Linked DNA regions of Homo sapiens: region 2 is linked to region 1. Evidence: promoter capture Hi-C in human tissues and cell types (Jung and others, 2019). All regions are on one chromosome and are shown on one strand. Each heading gives the region's core, a stretch centred on a gene start or on the middle of the fragment in contact. The rest is flanking DNA. Distances are from core to core; before and after follow the strand shown. Region 1 holds the start of NDST4 (N-deacetylase and N-sulfotransferase 4). Region 2 overlaps NDST4 (N-deacetylase and N-sulfotransferase 4).

What was found. Contacts are between HindIII fragments. The study calls those that stand out against the background at their distance.
Region 2: a contact is called between a fragment that was not itself captured here and the fragment with the promoter of NDST4 in region 1, in 1 of the 25 tissues and cell types used here (heart left ventricle).

What each region holds. Positions count from the first base shown.
Region 1 is chr4:115,110,788-115,118,147 of GRCh38, forward strand. It overlaps NDST4 (N-deacetylase and N-sulfotransferase 4), which reads right to left and starts at 2,833. Exons shown (of 14, transcript NM_022569.3): 1 at 2,657-2,833. The HindIII fragment of the contact is 5,437 bases long and covers 722-6,158 here.
Region 2 is chr4:115,076,167-115,083,526 of GRCh38, forward strand. It overlaps NDST4 (N-deacetylase and N-sulfotransferase 4), which reads right to left. Exons shown (of 14, transcript NM_022569.3): 2 at 1-1,116. The coding sequence starts at 870. Among named protein-coding and RNA genes, the nearest start is that of NDST4, 34 kb to the right of the region's middle. The HindIII fragment of the contact is 6,354 bases long and covers 1-6,149 here.

The sequences.
Region 1 (7,360 bases), core at 1,583-4,082:
CTACTTAGAAAATATATTTGTTCTTTAAATATCCCACAGTTTGTACTGGAGAAAAAAAATAACACTTCAGGTTAGACTCTAAACATAATGCATTATCAATGAATTTTAGCCCAGAAAGAATTAGCCTTCTGGGTGCACAGCTTCTCTGTCTTGGCTTCCAGCCAGGGCTGATATTCTAGCTTTATTTTATGTTTCCCCAGCTGCTTTCTAAATCTGGGAAGGCAGCACCAGCCAGAATCTTCTAGTTTGAACACAGTATGCTAAATGCTTCTCTCTTCTCCCTTAGTAATTGCTTGTAAATGATGCACACAAAGTTTGATCTTTGGATTTTATTTCCAAAGGCCCCCTTTCAACTCAAACAGAAAGTACAAGGGGATCATATGAACATTTAACCTACTGGGGACAACTGTTCTACTGGGTTGGAAACATTTATTTAGTACGTTTAAGAACTAATGTTAGTATTGAGATTGAATTATGTTTATTTTAAATCCAAGTATAGAATGCTTTTCTTTGGGAGAAGAAAGAATAGGTATAACAGTTTTTAATCTCAAATAAAAAATGAAAGATCCTTATTTTCCTGAGGTGAACATAAGCATGAGCATATGTTTCTATTTTGATTATCAATTATAGAAATTCCAAATTATGACTTAATATATTTATATATAAAAATAGTCCCCATATACTTCCTTTTGATGTTTAGGATAATATATTTAAAATTACACATTTCTTAAATAATAAGCCTATCTTGGAGAAAACAAAATGTAATTTACATATATTTGCATTTTTATTTATTATTTATATATTTGCATTAATCAATTTAAAAAATTCAAATTTTCAGGAGGTTTTACCTTCCTTTTATTTAAAAATAATGCCTGAGTTTCTAAATTGGATCTAAGGGTGATTTTCAAGTTATATTAGTAACTCATATATATTATAACTTTTTCAAAGGGTTTTTATGTATCAGTCTTAGTGGTGACCAGGTGCCATTCAGATAGAGTTAAAAGGCCCATTCTGCTTAGTATTCAATTTCTAAAAATCTTCCCAATTAGCTTATTATGAGATGTCTATCAATGTAAACATTGTTTAATATTGATCATCATAATGTATTGTCATACGATTTCTTATTTTTAAAAATGTCAACAATAGTAGGCTTAACTTCCCATTTATATATTGAGATAAATGTAAATGGCAATTATATTTTGCTTATTAATTAGTTTTTTATGAATTCCAGTTGAAAACTTAGACTGTTGTAGTCAGTGGACTTTATATTCTTTACATAAACTTGCTACTCACACACACACACACACGCACACACTCATGCACACAAATGACCAGCACAGAACCTATGTGACACTGGGATATAGCTAACTGGCATACTTTTAATAGAGTAGAATAAATTACTCTTTTGATATGAAAAAAAAAAAAAAACCTTTACATCGTTGTGGGAAAATTCATTGCTTCCTAGTTTTGGGGAAATTCAACCAATTACAATAACTTTCATCTTTATCAATTTCCTCTTGGGGCAGAAACCTCACAGGATTTTAACCATGTTGTTGGTGAGAAAGTGGAAAACTAAAATCATTCTGAGAGTTACAGAAACACATCAGTATCTTGGTATGCAATTTATGTTAAAGCATTTATGAAACTGTGCAAATGAAAAATATTCTGATAAAAGGCACCACGAAAACAAGCAAAGGTGAGTTTGAAAGAGACATGATAAAACATAAACTTAAAACTTTCTAAAGCTGTATGAGAACTCACAGTATAACTTATCATAATAAACAAAACATATAATCACTTAAAAAAACTATGACAGGAATTCTGTAGAATATAGTATTTTATTAATCAGGACAAATTCTAAGAAAAATAAGGTTTAATTTTCCTTATTTAGCTTTCTCAAAAAGAATATTGAAAAGAATGAGTAAAACCATATTCCAATAACATTTCTTGTTTTCCAACTTATTCTGTGCTTGAGGAAATTGGAGGTATACCATAAAGCTTTCTGTCCTCCTAGGAAACTATGCTTAGGGCATATGACATATATTGTTCTAAGAATTTATTTTTCTTTTCTAATAGGAGGTAGGAGGAAAGCACCTATTTCTTTATAAGCAATTTATGACTGTAACATACAATTTCACATGTCTGTGACAGCTGTTTCTCTAAAGCAGACCATTAGTACAGAGCATGCCTATAAATCTCAGGTCCAAAAAACAGGAGTTCCCATCTTCGGTAATTTGAATGCCATGTTTTCAGTAACACTTATTAGGGAAACATTTATAACCCTACAGTTAACTTTGGATGTTGAGTTTGTAAAATTGGTGCTTTTAATATGAAAAGGCTAAAGTTGTTATCAAATAAGATATTTCCTATGCAAATGTTCCGGCAACTGTTTAAATTTTATCAAGTTGTATCTCTTTTTTTTTATGTACGACTGTATTTTCTACTTACGTGCAAATATAACTTCTATAAAGCATGATGACAGGTAAGCACACACATGCGGAAAAGGGAGATTGAATTTGGTTTTAAGATATTATCTGCTTCTACATAAATCTTTCACAAATAAAACTTTATTGTGTCCGACTTGTTTACATAGCTAAGCAACGCATATTCATTTATGATACACACCTCGATTTCAGCAAATTAAGCAGTAACTTACCTAGAGAAGCATTTCAATATTTTGTCTTTTTCTAACTTGAATTTATCCCGTGTTAGAACATGAGATATCCAGTATTCAGGTTCACTTGGCTCCAGGTTAATTAGAAGGAGCTTTCAGTTCATGCAATCTGCCTCAACAATATTCCAAGAGCACTCTCTAGCTCCAGTCTTAGTGTCTGAACTCTTCCAGCAGAGTCCTTTTATTTATACACACATTGTCCTTTTCAAAACAAGCAGCCAGCTGGAATGATTCAAACCTCTGTTCAGCACACCGTTAAAATGCAGCTTCCTTCTTGGACACGAGAATTACACCAGGGAGCAGACCGAGTACAGCAAAAAGGCTATGAGAACTATTTAATCACCGGAATACCAGCTGCTCCTGCTCTGCTGTTGCTAGTGCTGCTGTGCCTCTTGTTTAGCTGTAGTCGGTCTTTCCCTCCCTCCCTCTCTCTCACATCTCCAGAACTATAAAGGCAGCTTTGCCGGATTATGATTGGCAGAAACAGCCAATTCCTTCAGCTAATCATCCTCAAGACTTTCAAGGACCTGGAGCTGTTGTGATGTCATCCAGTCAGTGGGATGTTACACATGAATACATTCCAACAGAAGCTAATTCAGCGATGGGCTGCATTCCGCTCACACCGCGGTGATTGATTAGATGCTCCTTGAAGATTTGCATAATCTTTCATTGTACAGTTCGACTATTTCCTATGAAATTTGAGGATAGAATTCCACTTTGCAGCTATGACACTGTTCCACGAGATTCTATTGGACAAAATAAGAAAAGTTCAAAGCAGGATTTTCTGCTGTAAATGTGTGCCAGTTAAACACAAAAATTACAAACTCAACAAAAGCCAACAATGAGCAATAGGAAACTCGGACAAGTATTAGTAAGCTACATAGTCCTGAAGTTAATAACAGCATTTTAGACCATGATAAATGTTAGAAGAAAAGAAAGAGTATGTGCGTGTGAATTTATTGTGTGCATTGTTTTAGTAATTAAGGTAAACTACTGGATTATTATGGAAAAGTTCTTTTCTATGTCTCTTTTCTTCTTTTTAACGTGGCAATATAAGTTGAAAATTACCTGCTCTTTGTTTTCTATTAATTCGTGTAAACACATAAAGATATTATCAAGTACTTTTATATACATTATGTAAAGTTCTTTAAACTTATTCATTAGGATATATGTAAAAGTAAAAGTAAAGTGCTTTCAGGTACTTCTCCTCATTCCAGACTACATGATTCCCTGGGCTTTTCTTGCTTTAGTACATCCCTTAGTTTCTACCATTTAATTTAGTGGAATAAGATAGGCTAATGAGAATTTGGTTCAACACCCCTAATAGGTTGCAGAACAGAACTACAAGCTTTTCTCAACTCCAAGTCCTCCTCAGGTATATGGGTGTCTTTGGTTGTACGTAGTAGTTCCACTTGAAATACTGGTGTGGTTTCAATGAAATCCTCTATAAGACTGGAAGGTAGGGGTAGGAGGGAGTCCTTCAAAACTCAGCATTTATTGATGATGTGGTCTTTCAGAAGAATAATTTTAATGCATCCAGGATTACTAGTATTATTATACTGCACAAGGTTTTGAGGGTTAGCAAGCCATAGACATATGCCATACAGAGAATAGGGAAAAAAAATCTAGCAAGTTAGAAAAAATATTTACCAGTTATTCATAAGCAATAAATAAAACCTAGTAACTCATAGGTCATGTATCAGTTAGTTTTTCAGGTGCACAGGCTAAAATATATTAAAGAAAAAATTTATATTTTAAAAATAATTAAAGCGTTCAGGTACTTCTTACTACCTTTTAAAACATTTGGAATGCAAAGATGCATTGAAGTCAAGTCAGAATTTTCAGAGTGATACACATCAAAATTCAAAATGGATAAATAAACTGCAGTTAAATATTTCAAAGATGTCATAATAAAATAATTATTACTAGAGTAGCATCATGGGAAACACTAACAGTTGATAAATAACATAAAATAGCATAAATTGTAAAAGCCAATTGAAGATTTTTCTGTTGTATGTAGTTTGGCTTACTAATAATGCCTTCTTCTTTATTCAAGTTGGGTAATTATTTTTAAGTCTTAACTTTAGAAAAATAATTTAAATGAAAAACTATTATAAATGCTCAACATCTTTATATTATTGACATAGTTCTATTTCACAACTCAAGAATGCCACTTTATCAGAGTATTTTCATTTATTGGAACTAAATGGCAACACAGTGATCTGAAGATAAAACCCATCACATTAAAACATGGAGCAGGGTTTATATCCTCGGCTCTAGTGATAAACTAGAGCTGATATCCATTGATGATTACAAGTGAAAAATGTTGATCAACTTCTTCTCTAGCATTAAACTATAAACAATGTTTTAAGCTGAAGAGGTAACTACTTTCACAGTGTAAAAATGCTATATAAAATATTAATAGAAGATATTCTTATTAAAGGTAAAATTCTTTTAAATATTTGTGAAACATGAACTTTGAAATTCAAAAAATCCAGAGATGAGTAATTAAAATTCAATTTAGGGAAAAAATACCCAACTTTACTCTCCCTGCCTCATTTTTCATTCAGAAATACACTAAGTACTGAAGGCAGAGGGTCCCACCATATACATATGTATAAATGAATGGAAACCCACCAAAAAGTGCTTTCTTTTCTATTCCTGGGGAAAACCAGAGAAATTCACAACACTCACACTAAAACAAAACAAAATAATCCTCAAAGTATTTTGAATATTTTTCTTATACTTTTCTTTGTATATTGTATTCGCAAATGACTAAAACAAACATATTTGTGAATTTGTAATCTTTTATCATTTTCTCATCTGTCATGTTGGGAAAATGAAATAAATGACCTTGGACATTTCTGGGAAGAAATGTAATACACAAGAGAGAAAAGAGGAAATAATTACTTGCTCAAAGTGTTTTAATTTTTTAAATCATTTAACTTGTGTTCCACAATTTACAGGGCTTGCACTTAAATATCAAAATGTAGCATCAAGTCAGCTCATTTTCAACAATACACGCAATGCAAAGCATTCACCCAATTGCTTATAGTTGACTTTTAAGAAGAAAGTGGATGCTTTTAAGTTTCTTTAAGCACTCTATAAAGTATAATATAATTGTTCTTTTATCTATTAAGATGTAGGTCCAGACTTATATTAAGACCTCAATGGATTTTTAAAAAATTGAATTGAACTTGTTGAACTAATAAACTTTTAGAGCTCCACATATTTTTATTCAGTTGCTCTCTTGACTCAGCAAAAGTTAAAGTAGTATTTGCCCACTACAAAACCTTTTCATTCAACTGAATTTATCTTTGAATTTACCTTTTAAATTTTCAGTGGCGTTTCCTTGGAAGTTCAAGAAATGTGTATGTGTTATATGCATTATTTGGAAATTTTAAAAGTGAAAAACATTGAAAACATTATATAATATACACTTATAACATATATCTAAGAACATAATATACTTTCAATTTAATTTATAAATACATATATACGCTTTGTTCTTTATAATACACACATATATCTTTGTATATACTTACTCAATAGAAGAAAAAAAGATGTTTATTTTAAAAGGAAGGTCTTTTTTTTGTTTGTATGTCAAGTCTTTATTACAGTGAAAATGAGAGGGTAGTAATATCTACTAATAAAAATCTTAGAAAACTTCAAAAAAACTCGGTAAATTTAACAATTTCAAAAATTTTCATCATTTTCTTTCTCATTTTGTTCTGCTAATTGTTACTAATGGTAAGTTTTAAATGCTTGCCTCTAAAATAAATAAAGGTTTGCACAGAAAATACTAAAACAAGATTCCAAGTACTTCATAATTTCTACTTTTTAAAAAATTATTCACATGCATATACAGGCTATAAACAGAAGATATTTAGATCTTTAAATGTACATTTTTATTCATTTCAAGTTTCATCTTTTTTGTTACTTTTAGAGCAAAAATAATTTTGAATGAGCACAACCAAATAAATTTATAGTTCTCACAATTTTGATTGAATGCGTTTAGTTTAATTTACAGTCTTCACTACTAAAACTTATAAATACAAGATTCTATTACCACACTACCACTTTCTGTCTATATCCTTTTCTTTTAATTTTATTTTTTAACATGAGCAACTATCCTGTTGTACCAACACGAAAGGCTATAACTCTTTTTTAAAAGAAAAAGCATGAATAAAAGAAACTTCTACGTTCAAAGTTTATGCCTTCAGGGAGCAGGGGAAGCCTCTAATTGGGCTGTGAGTGACTAATACAAAAACTTTTTATTAAGAGAAAAAAATCTTCTGCTAGCAATTGTTAGGATAAGAACTTATGTGAGAAAGAAGTTGCATAAAGTCACTTTTGCTTCAATGGTATCATAATACATGATAAAAAAATCGTAAGTGCCAAATAGCATTACGTGGATAACAAACACCCCAGTCACAGACTTAGATGTTATCTTATTACACATCTGGATCTCTTGTTAGCAAGTTATTAGAAAAAGGGAAAAAAATAGGAAGAGCAGGTTGGAAGAAAGAATCTTTTTGCCAGTATCACTCTAGTGCATTGTTGTAGCAAGAGAGAAATCAGCATGTTAATGCTTCAAATAAATCCTTTGAAGATGCAAAACTTGAAAGGCCAAGTGAGGGAACAAACAGACTAAACAGTCCAATTCCAGTTTGGCAGACAACTACT
Region 2 (7,360 bases), core at 1,723-4,222, 34 kb before region 1:
GAAGGAGATGGCATCTATGAAGATGAGCTTGTGCAGCCAAAAGTTCAAGTTGTTGCCAAAAAGTACTCTCTGAATTCCATCATGAAGCCCCAGATCCTGAATCACCGTTGCAAAGAGTGTTTTGCTAGACAAGGATGACAGGGATTTTTCTGTCTGTAACTCAGTTAAAAGTACAGGCTGGTAGGTTGAATGATTATATTGGAAAATAGTCCAGTCTTCCCCAGGAAGAGGGCCTTTCTCAACCTTGGGGGCTTTGGTAATATGCAGCAAAGGAGATTGAGGGTTAACAAAACAGTCCTTTAGAGCTAGATTATTGAAAAGGTTTAACGGAAAGCCTTTTAATTGTGTACTTGGTAAGCTGTTCTCATTGGCTTTATGAAAACCGATTATACTAACACTGTATTCCACACAGTATTTTTCTAAAAGCTCTCGATTCCATGAGTCCATGCTGACATACTTCAGAATATTTTCATAAATAACTAAAGTATATTTCCCTTTGCCATTATCTGTAAGAGGAGGTATATCTCCCTTTCCAGGGGCAATAACCATGTGGTACTGAAATCGGCTGGACTCCAAAATAGCTATGATATCTTGACCGAGTTGAGAGTATTGGCTCTCCACGAAGAGAAGGACAGTAGGGTCCGTTTTGGATGTGTCAATAGGTTTAACTGTTTTCAGCTCCATTGACCTATATGGTAGAATTTTGATGTCAGTGCATTCTGCTTCTGCAGTGGTTTCAATAAGTGTCATTTCCTGTTTGTAGCCAGAGTAGAGAAAATAGGCAGAAATGACAATGCTCACCAAGCAAAAGGTAGCTAAGAGAACAATCAATGTTCGAAAACTTCTCCGAAGTTTCACAATAAGATTCATTTTTTAGAATAATGTTTTGGAAGCTTTTTCCCAATTTCGTTTCCTAAAGTGCCATAGTGAATAAAGTATGAGATGTTGCAAATATCACTTCCCCAGAGTTCATGTAACCATCGCAAATCATGTAAAATGTTTGAAGGGAGCACAACTGAGTTAAAGCTGGAAGGCAATAGATGGGAAGGATATACGTTGAGGAGATTTTGAATATGTCCAATACTGAGAATTGCTGCAGAATCCTCTAAGCATAATCTGAAAGAGAGGAGAGATGTAATAACTAAGATAAAAATAGAAATATAAATATTTATTTCTATATAAATGCTGATGCTCAAGAAACATATATAGCAATGATAATTTTAGTGTTAATATGCTAAAATATTAACAACCTGATGTTTACAGTCTAGACTTAACTACCTAGAGTATAGTAGATTTTTTGATAACCTCCAGAACACAGAACCCAATTTTATTTTGGCCTAAACATCCATATGTATATAGAAACATGTATTGAGATCATTTTCTAACTAATCCCACCAAAAAAGAAAAGAAGTAAGAAAGTAAGCTTTAACAAAGTATGTCAGTTACCATAAAACTATTCTACAGAACTGATAACCATTATATACATATAAAATTAGGAAATCAGGAATCAGGGGCTTAGAGCAATTAAACATGCTCTTAGGTATCTGCCTGAGTCTCTGGAATTCCCAGCTGACTAAATAAATCTGTCTTAAGTTTAGAGTAGTTACAAGTTTTTCTCTTGAATAATATATCCTTTATCTGGACTCACAGGGAGCCACTTGGCCCTCTTCAGCATTACAGCCCAGATACATAGGACTGCTCCTTCTTCTTGCAGGAACAGGCATTCTCAGATCTCGCTAATGAAACAGAGGACAGAACGCTTAGGTGAAAAGAACAATGACATGTTAGTCTCAAAGCATATTTCCTAATTTTGCCTACTCTTGTAATAAGAATTAAAACTCTTACTCATTGTCAATTTTTATCCAAGAATCAGATGTTCTATTTCTCTATCACTTCCTTTAGTTCAAAAAAAATGAATGTAGAATGCATTTGTATTATTTTGTTCTTGTATTGCTCTAAAAAAACACCTGAGACTGGAAAATTTATAAAGAAAAAAAGGATTAATTGGCTCACGGTTCTGCAGGCTGTACAGGAAGCATAGCAGCTTCTGCTTCTGGGGAGATATAAGGAAGCTTCCAATCATGGTAGAAGGCAAGGGGGTGCCAGGTATCTCACATGGTGGAAGCAGGAGCAAAAGAGAGAGTGTGTGTTTAGAAGACAGGAAGATGAGGATATGTTTGGAACTTCCTAGAGACTGGTTTTAAATGGTAGTGACCAAAATGCTGATAGTGATATGGACAGTGAAATACAAGCTAAGGAGGTCTCAGATGGAAATGAGGAACTTATTGGGGACTGGAGAAAAGGTCATTTTTTGTTATGCCTTAGCGAACAACTATGCTACATTGTGCCCCTGCCCTGTGGATCTGTGGAACTTGAACTTAAATGTGATGATTTAGGGTATCTGGTGGAAGAAATTTCTAAGCAGCAAAGCATTCAAGAAGTGGTGGGTGGATCACGAGGTCAGGAGTTCAAGATCAGCCTGGTAGGGATAGTGAAACCCTGTCTCTACTAAAAATACAAAAAAAATTAGCAGGCATGGTGGTGGGTGCCTGTAATCCCAACTACTCAGGAGGCTGAGACAGAGAATTGCTTGAACCCGGGAGGCGGAAGATGCAGTGAGCTGAGATTGTGCCACTGCACTCCAGCCTGGGCAATAGAGCAAAACTCTCTTCCGCCCCCACCAACCCCCGCCCAAAAAAAGTGACCTGGATGCTTCTAACAACCTATACTGGGATACATAAGCAAAGAAATGACCTAAAGTCAGAACTGATATTTAAAGGAGAAGCAGAACTGTGAGGCAATTAAAGCTCTTCTTCATAAATTACCCAGTTGCAGCTATATAGTCATTTGAGAATGAACTAACACAGCATTAAAAAAAAAATTTCCCATTATACACTACATTACTACAGGCACGGTGGCTCAGGCCTGTAATCCCAGCACTTTGGGAGGACAAGGTGGGCAGATCACAAGGTCATGAGATCGATACCATCCTGGCCAACATGGTGAAACCCCGTCTCTACTAAAAAAGTACAAAAATTAGCTGGGTGTGGTGGTGCATGCCTGTAGTCCCAGCTACTCAAGAGGCTGAGGCAGGATAAATGCTTGAACCTGGGAGGCAGAGGTTGCAGTGAGCTGAGATCACACAACTGCATGCCAGCCTGGCCAGTCTGGGCAACAAGAGCAAAACTCTGTCTCAGAAAAAAAAAAAAAAAAAAATCCCAAACTGCTTCATCACGAATGGACATAATTTTCCATTATTATTAGATGTTTTTCTTTGTATAGATGATTCTGACTTCAATGAATTACTTTCTATACAAGCTTACTTCATCTGTCTCTACACTGTTAGAGTACTTAAATAATTTTCGATTTCCCAGTTTGCCAAACTTTCCCTAGGATAACTATTTTGGGTGAAAATAGTTCATGTTATCAATGTGTGATATATATATTTAAGATATGCATTACATCAGACATATTACATCAGAGAGAATTAAACTAGCATGCTTTTTAATGAGTGGTATGTTCTATCACACTGTGGATATTTTATGGATTTCTTTATTTTTTAATTGGGGGATCTGAGTGATGAATGCTTATTAATGATGACTGAAAACTTTTTAGATTACATAGTTAAACATTGCAAAATTATGTCGCTACTTTTCATTTTATATTTCTATGTTCTACAATACTTAACCTCATTAGTAATTTAAGTTTTAAAAATCTGCATGATGTTGAAATGGTTGTTTTTGTCAGAAAATAACTTTTAAACTTTTTCAAAAAATTAAAAATTTTCATCAAATATTTTAAATATTTTAACACTTCAGATTCCAAATATATAAGTGGACCTTAGCTTTTCACTGTGAAACATATTGTACCAGTTTGCAGTCTCCCCAGTGACTTCACATGGACTTTAAAAACAAATGAATCCCACATGTTGGGGAATTACTAATACTCTATTTACAAATTTTATTTGTTTCATTTATTTATTTATTTTGAGATGGAGTCTTGCTCTGTCACCCAGGCTGTAGTGCAGTGGCCTGATCTGGGCTCACTGCAGCCTCCACCTCCCAAGGTCAAGTGATTCTCCTGCCTCAGCCTCCCTAGTAGCTGGGATTACAGGCACACACCTTCAAGTCCAGCTAATTTTTGTATTTTTAGTAGAGACTGGGTTTCACCATGTTGGCCAGGCTGGTCTCAAACTCCTGACCTCAGGTGATCCACCCACCTCGGCCTCCCAAAATGCTGGGATTGCAGGCATGAGTGACTACGCCCAGCCAAATGAAATTCTTTAATGTAATTGTCTGCTTTGCAAAAGTCTTTGTTTCAAAACTCAGCTCCCTTTAACCAAATTGGATTGCATTTTACTAAAAAGAAATGGAATACAGCAATAAAAAGGCTTTGGTTTGGTCTGAAATATATAAAGCAATTATATTATATCCTCTACTTTTATGTATGCTTGAAAATTTTCATATGTAAATTTTTTAAATAAAAACTCATTAAAAGATACATATATACATATATATAGTGTGTAGTGTGTGTGTGTGTGTGTAATAATGAAAGTGAAAGATATTTGGAACTTGTCGAAGGAGATTATTAATCTTATATCAATTCTTAGATTTATCCAAGCTCACATATTTAATTTAAAAATCTATTTAAACAAATGTAAAATCAGACCCACCCCATCCACACAACTCCCCCAAATAACCCAATAAGAGCAGATACCTACTTACATGCTTTGGAGGATTGCTTAGTATTTTAGGAATAAATTTAACCAGGAGATTCGGAGAGAAATTAAATGTAGGACAAGTTAATACTTGGTTTAATCTTTACTTCTTCTCACATTAAAAATGTGATTTTTATTTTTGAATACACAAAGGAGAATATGTCAGTTTTGCATATTTAGACTATCTCCTCCTAATGCAATAGTGAAAAATAAATTAAAAAAAAAACCATATGGGGCAAGAATCTGCCAACCCAAAGAATAAATAAAATTTAAATGTGAAATTTATTTAACAGTAATATGTTCAGAGTTAGAAGAATGATAGATACATATTACCACCATGGAAGACATATGTGTTTTCAATGTAGGTGTTTTAACTAAAGGAGTTATCCTTCCCATTCAATTCTCCCAGTTCTCCTTCCCTAGCAAAACTGGCCGGTGGAGATGAGGAAGCCTGGACCATACAACTTGATATACCATAAGTGTTTACCTATGTCTCACACCTGAAGTAAGAAATGGTATTATGACATTGTTTAGGATGCCAAAAAGGTGTAGTCTGTGATTAGTTTGAATCTCTTACCTACTGTGTGACCCTTGAAAAGGTGGGGGAAAAGGCATGCAGGAGTATGGATAGGGAGAGCAACCAACATAAGAATCTTAAGTCGTTACCATAAGTCGAATAAGACAATTGAGATTAATTTTCAAAAGGCACGTGTTAAATGAGTCACATAAAATTAAAAAAATTACTTCAGGATAATAACGAAGACATTAAAATGCTGCTATAATGGTATAAAATATGTGGCATTTATTTTTAAGTAGTCTAAGGTGATACACCAAAATTTTTATTTTACCTTAATTAGTTTCTTCTTCAGGAAGACCCTGGGACAAGTCAGCAAGAAACAGAAACATTTGAGAGCTTTCCTTTCCCCACTTTCCCCTTATATGGTGATGTTGACCTTTCATTATAGAAATAACAGACAAATATGTGGATTACTGAGTAAATTCCATCTGTGGAAAAACTATTTTATTAACCATCAAACCAAGTAAGTTAAACAGGCTTTGGTCCCAATTCTTCTTAATCTGACTTTCCATGTTCTAATAAATCTTTCGTTAAAAATTTGGAAGGAGAGATCTACTCATTATTTTCATGACAACCTGTCACAAAATGTGGGCTTCATGACCCCTGCACAGGCTTTGATAAGAAAAAAAGGGAGGCTTTTGTAGGTGTTGATTTTCCTGTTCTCATTTTTGTTTTCTTATTTTTACCTTCTATCCTTCCAAATGTGGCTTATCACCTAGGTAGTGGAATAAATATCTCCTAGAATCTTTGACTCTCTTTCAAGATTAGAAAATATTATATGATGATATTAACACTATTGTTTTATATATCTGTTATAAGATTGCCTTTTGACATTTTCAAAATGTGTTTAGAGATTCTCTAAAATACAGTTTGCAAAGTTCATTTGCCACATAATCATGGTAAATTTCTAGTAATCTCTGGTAGCAGCAGAGAAGTGAGTTAGTAAACAAAGCAATTACAGGTACTACTGTAGTTATTGCTACTTTTGGAAAGGCTGAAATACAGAAGAAAGCTAGATACTAAATCACATTGCATATACGTGTGGTTGTTTCTTTGTTGAAGGTGATCTGATGAGCTGTACAGATCACTAAAGAGGCTCCTGAAAATTCAGCTGAAATTGAGAACAAGAGCAACGACGTTTACCAGCATTTAATAAATGGCTACTGCTTGCTAGTAACTATGCTATATTCTTTGTATTCATCATCCTGTTTACTCTTTATGGATCTATTTTTAAAATGACAAAATTAAAATTTAGAAGGTTTAAGAACGGAACTAAGATTAAACTACTAATGATTTATGATACTAGGATTCTACAGTTGCACTGTAGAGAAGAAACAAAGATTAAGTTAAGTGAAGCCAAAAACTTAGCAGTCAGCATAATTAAATAATTTAACTGCAAATCAGCAAGTTTTATTTTAATTTTAAAAGTTCAGCTATTCAAAGCCAAAAATGTCTACCAAAAATGGAGAAAAATTGTAGAGGTGAATTAAATTGATTTGAAAGAGCTGTGTTGTAAATTGGAATGACTTAAGAATTTGCAATAATTTCACTGACCTTGACTTTTCGTGATGGCTGTGAGAAAACTATTTTATTATATACCTTGTTTTTACATGCTTCATGCGTTTTTTTGTTGGCTTTTAAGAATCATAAAGAATTAGCTCATATTTTATATTAATGAAACAGAATTTTTAATTAAAGCTGTTACCTAGGCCAGGCATTGTGGCTCACACATGTAATTCCAGCACTTTGGGAGTCTGAGGCTGAAGGATTGCTTGAGTCCAGGAGTTTGAGACCAGCCTGGACAACAAAACAAGATCTTGTCTCAACACAAAAGAAAAAAGAAAACAAATTAGGCAGGTGCGGTGGTGTGAACCTGTAGTTCCAGCTACTTGGGAGGCTGAGGCAGGGAGTTTACCTTGAGCCCAAGAGTTCAAGGTTGCAGTGAGCTATGATTGCACCACTGCACTCCAGCCTGGGTGACAGAGGGATACCCTGTCTGGAAACACACAAAAACCAGAAAACACAAAAATTATTATATAAACATTTAACTATTTGTTCATATACAT